Regions from separate parts of the Homo sapiens genome. Here region 1 is linked to region 2. The links are contacts of gene promoters, found by promoter capture Hi-C in human tissues and cell types (Jung and others, 2019). All regions are on one chromosome and are shown on one strand. Each heading gives the region's core, a stretch centred on a gene start or on the middle of the fragment in contact. The rest is flanking DNA. Distances are from core to core; before and after follow the strand shown.

Evidence for each region. Contacts are between HindIII fragments. The study calls those that stand out against the background at their distance.
Region 1: a fragment that was not itself captured here is called in contact with the fragment with the promoter of SPAST in region 2 in 1 of the 25 tissues and cell types used here (hippocampus).

Annotation. Positions count from the first base shown.
Region 1 is chr2:32,121,722-32,124,421 of GRCh38, forward strand. The region is part of intron 7 of SPAST (spastin); the gene reads left to right. Among named protein-coding and RNA genes, the nearest start is that of SLC30A6-DT, 43 kb to the right of the region's middle. The HindIII fragment of the contact is 5,069 bases long and covers 1-2,700 here.
Region 2 is chr2:32,062,181-32,064,880 of GRCh38, forward strand. It overlaps SPAST (spastin), which reads left to right and starts at 1,376. Exons shown (of 17, transcript NM_014946.4): 1 at 1,376-2,066. The coding sequence starts at 1,652. RefSeq lists enhancers at 1,170-1,239, 1,288-2,088 and silencers at 1,460-1,599, 1,660-2,079, 2,110-2,239. The HindIII fragment of the contact is 21,143 bases long and covers 1-2,700 here.

The DNA.
Region 1 (2,700 bases), core at 173-2,672, 60 kb after region 2:
TTAGTAGAGACGGAGTTTCACCATGTTGGCCAGGCTGGTTTCAAACTCCTGACCTCAGGTGATCCACCTGCTTTGGCCTCCCAGAGTGCTGGGATTACAGGCATGAGCCACCGTGCCCAGCCCTATTCTGATTTCATAGATGCAGTGTCTTTTATGTCTCTGAGAGGTTTTGTCAAGTTTTCTTTTGTTTACTTTATTATCTGTTTCTTCAAGATTCCTCCTCTTTTCTTTTTGCCTTAAGCTTTTTCATATTGGAAGCTTCTCTCAAATGTCTGGTTATTCTGGTTGTCCACTTATATTACGTGGAACAATAAAAAAGTTGATTAGGACTCTGTGCTGTAAGTAAGTAAATTGTTGATAGTGAGAGCCCATTAATCACAGGATGATCAAGCAGCAAGCCTACTGTTTATTTGGGTTTCTCCAAATGGCTATAGCTGTCAGTCTTTTTTTTCTGGGGTTATTTGGCTTCTCTAGAAAAGAATTTTCTAGTCTCTTGTTTGGAGAATACAAGCTTGACTATTGGTGTTCCAGAAAATGGGTGGGAGGAGACGACTTTGTTTTCTGTTAGGTTGAGCCATGTGAAATTACTAGGTTTTGTTTTGTTTTCTGTTTTGTTTTGAGACAGAGTCTCACTCTGTTGCCCAGGCTGGAGTGCCTTAGCATGATCTTGGCTCACTGCAACCTCTGCCTCCCAGGTTCAAGCAATTCTCATGCCTCAGCCTCCCAAGTAGCTGGGATTATAGGCATGCACCACCACGCCTGGCTAATTTTTGTATTTTTAGTAGAGACGGGGTTTTGCCATGTTGACCAGTCTAGTCTCGAACTCCTGACCTCAGGTGATCCACCTGCCTTGGCCTCCCAAAGTGCTGGGATTACAGGTATGAGCCACCACACCTGGGCTGAAATTACTGTTTTTATAGGTCAAAAACAGTTGAGGGATAGGCATGGTGGCTCCCACCTATAATCCCAGCACTTTCAGAGGCCAAGGCAGGAAGATTGCTTGAGTCCAGGAGTTCGACACCAGCCTGGGCAATGTAGTGAAACCCCATCTATATTTAAAAAAAAAAAATAGATGAATATCTTTGTTTGCAGATAACATGATTGCATATGTAGAAAATCCCAAAGAACCAACAAAAAGAGCTCCTAGAACTAATAAGTGATTATGACAAGGTGTAGAATACAAAGTTAATATACAAAGTCAATTGCTTTTTTATCTACCAGCAGTGAACAACTGGAATTTGAAATTAAAACACAATACTGCTGGGTGCAGTGGCTCACACCTGTAATCCCAGCACTTTGGGAGGCCGAGGTGGGCAGATCACCTGATGTCAGGGGTTCAAGACCAGCCTGACCAATATGGTGAAACCCCATCTCTACTAAAAATACAAAAATTAGCTGGGCATGGTGGCGGGTGCCTGTAATCTCAGCTACTCAGGAGGCTGAGGCAGGAGAATCGCTTGAACCCAGGAGGCAGAGGTTGCAGTGAGCCAAGATCGCGCCATTGCACTCCAGCCTGGGGGACAGAGCAAGACTCCGTCTCAAAAAAAAAAACACAATACCTTTCATATTAACACTAATAAAATGAAATATGTGTAGTTCTAACAAAGTTTGTTGTAGAAGATCTATATGAGAAGAATTATAGCACTCATGAAAGAAATCAAAGATCTAAGTAAACTGAGAGATATTCCATGTAAATGGACAGGGAGACTAAATATTATTGAGATGTCAGTTCTTCCCAAGTTCATATATCGATTCAGTGCAGTCCCAGTCAAACCCCAGCCAGTTATTTTGTGGATACTGGCAAACTAAAGTTTATATGAAAAGGCAAAAGACCTAGAACAGCCAACACAGTATTGAAGAAGAAAAAAGTCAGAGGACTGAAACTACCCAATTTCAAGACTTACTGTAAAGCTACATTAATCAAGACAGCATGTCATTGGCAAAAGAATAGACAAATAAATCAGTAGAATTGGACAGAGAGCCTAGAAATCAACCCACACAGATAAAGTCAACTGATCTTTGGCAAAGGGACAAAGACAATTCAGTGGAGAAAAGATAGCCTTTTCAACAAATGGTATAGGACAACTGGACATCCACATGCAAAAAAGTTAATCTAGACACAGACCTGACAACTTTCACAAAAATAAATGGATCATAGACCTAAATGTAACATGCGAACTGAAACTTCTAGAGGATAACATAGGAGAAAATCTAGGATAACATGAGAAAAATTTTTGGTTTGGCAGTGACTTCTTAGGTACAATACCAAAACATGATCCTTGAAAAAAAAAATCAGTATGTTGAACTTTGTTTAAATTATAAACTTCTGCTCTGTGTAAGATGCTGTTAGGAGAATGAAAAGACATGCAGCAGAGTGGGAGACTTTACAAAATTCATTATCTGATGAAGGACCAGTATCCAAAATATACAAAGAACTTTTAAAACTCAACAATAAGAAAATATACAACCCAGTTAATAAATGGGCAAAATATCTGAACAGACACCTCACCAAGGAAGATAGATAGATGACAACAAGCATATGAATATATGCTCAACATCATGTCGTTAGGGAAATTGCGCATTAAAACAACAACAAGATACCCTGCCATCCCTATTAGAATGGCTGAAATCTAAAACACTGACAACACCAAATTCTGGCAGGGATGTGGAGCAGCAGAAACTTTAATTCATTGCTGATGG
Region 2 (2,700 bases), core at 126-2,625:
ACTGCACTCCAGCCTGGGCAATGGAGTGAAACCCTGTCCAAAAAATAAAAAAATAAAGCTGTGGCAGAATGTGGAGATTCTTGGAAGCTGGAAGCTCTCATGGGGCATTTGGAAACCTCACATTGTAAATAACGGAGTCTTTTTATCAGTTTGGCTTCCTTAGTTTTAGGAAACAAGAAATAATTATGGCTAACTCAAGTAAAAAGAGAAAGAGAAGAGAAAAAAGACGTGGAGATAGAGAGAGAGGGAGAGAGAGGAAAAGACGAAAGGAAGGAAGGGGGAAAGGAGAGAGGAAGAGAGAAACAGAGAAACAGACTGATTAGTGTATTGGATAGATTACATAACCAAGTGACCAGTCAGGAACCCAGCAGCTCTGGGGGAGCTCAATGTGATGCATTGATAAACCCGCTCTTAAGAGCACTCGTTTCCAGTTACTTTCTATTCGGTGGGTCTCCAGCCAAGATTCCAGGTCCCAGGAGAATCTGACTGACCTAGTGTTTGCTTCCGCCTTTGCGGTCTGGGTTCTGTGCTTGCAGCTCATTAGAATACAGGGAGCAGAGACAAGCAGGTAGTTTCCCAAAGGAAGGGATGCTGAGTAGATTAAAAAAAAAGTGTAGATTCTTCAGTAAACTATGGGATGGTAACTATGCAAAACCTAAGATTTCCCTTATTCAAATAAATTATCTTTCATATTAGACATCTAAATATGCACTAATTTAGTTAAACCCCTGGGTTAGTTGATCTCATCACACTGAGCTAACATTTTTGTTGCTGTTGTTTGCAGTGACCTGAAGTTTCTTATCTTCACAATTGCTTTCCTCTCAAATAATTCCCAGATTTTAAATTTTTATTTTATTTTTTCTGGAGACGGAGTCTCGCTCTGTCGCCCAGGCTGGAGTGCAGTGGCGCGATCTCAGCTCACTTGCAGCCTCTGCCTCCCGAGTTCAAGCGATTCTCCGGCCTTAGCCTTCCAACCAGCTGGGACTACAGGCGCGCGCCCCCACGCCCGGCTAATTTAATTCCCAGATTGATATCCATTGCTTCTGAGATGGGCCAATTATCCTTCGGAGAAGACTTAGGTCGCCTGGCAGAAAAAGATGAAAGAAATCTAAGAAAACGACGACACTGAGAGAGGAGCCTAGCGAACCAGCAGAGCGACCCCAAGCCGCAATTCCCCCTTCCGTGGATCGATTACGAAGGCTTCCTGGCAGGAGCTCTCCAGGGCTGCCGACGTGAGCCGAACTGCACATTGGGAACTGTAGTTGAGTGGGAAAGCCGAGAGGCGGGGGCCGCACACGCGTACAGGGGCCCCGGTCAACAAAGACGCGCCGTGCGCGCGCGCGCCGGAGAAAAACACGGGAAGACGTGCGCGTGCGCGGCCGCCGCTGGGAGCCACCAGGCGGCGGAGAGGACAGCGACAGGAAGGGAGGGGCCCGAGCCACCGACTGCAGGAGGAGAAGGGGTTGTGCTCCTGGCCGAGGAAGGAGAAAGGGGCGGGGCCGGCGGGCAGCGTGCGGCAGTGCGGAGCTCCTGAGACCGGCGGGCACACGGGGGTCTGTGGCCCCCGCCGTAGCAGTGGCTGCCGCCGTCGCTTGGTTCCCGTCGGTCTGCGGGAGGCGGGTTATGGCGGCGGCGGCAGTGAGAGCTGTGAATGAATTCTCCGGGTGGACGAGGGAAGAAGAAAGGCTCCGGCGGCGCCAGCAACCCGGTGCCTCCCAGGCCTCCGCCCCCTTGCCTGGCCCCCGCCCCTCCCGCCGCCGGGCCGGCCCCTCCGCCCGAGTCGCCGCATAAGCGGAACCTGTACTATTTCTCCTACCCGCTGTTTGTAGGCTTCGCGCTGCTGCGTTTGGTCGCCTTCCACCTGGGGCTCCTCTTCGTGTGGCTCTGCCAGCGCTTCTCCCGCGCCCTCATGGCAGCCAAGAGGAGCTCCGGGGCCGCGCCAGCACCTGCCTCGGCCTCGGCCCCGGCGCCGGTGCCGGGCGGCGAGGCCGAGCGCGTCCGAGTCTTCCACAAACAGGCCTTCGAGTACATCTCCATTGCCCTGCGCATCGATGAGGATGAGAAAGGTAACTAGGGGGCTGGGGGAGGGGGCGGCGGCGCCGGGAAGAAGGCGGTGGGGTCGCCGGGGGAGGGCAACACCTGCGTCCCTTTTCTGCGGGAGGGGACGGTGCACCCCCGGAATTGATATGCCCCGGGAGACTGCTTTCCCGTAGGTCGGAGCCTCATCTTCTAGTATTCTTAAAACCTCTCCCCTTTCAGGGCACTGTAGCTGTCGACTTTGTTTCAGACACCAGCCTTCCCCCACACTTCTGCATGACCCAGGTCACTATGAGACACCCAGACGTGTTGATGACAGTGACATTTGTCCTAGAGTGACCACACTGATCCTTTCTAGCACTGTGAAGAGTGTGCAGCTTCCTCTGAACCAAGGTTTCCAAAAGGTTTTGATATTGAAGAAGCAGTGCCGCCTTACTGGCTTTTAATGAAAGCAGAGTATTGTAGTGTCAGAAAAAAAGAACAAATGGTGACAATTTTGAAAGAAATAGCTGCATATGACTGCAGTTGAATTTGCATCATTTTAATCAAGATAATCATTTTATCAGTACAACGATTCCTGAATACTTTTTCAATGAAGTTATATTTAGCATAAAACTTTTCCCCCTGTTGCTTTGATTTTAATTAAAACAGTATTCCAAAGTA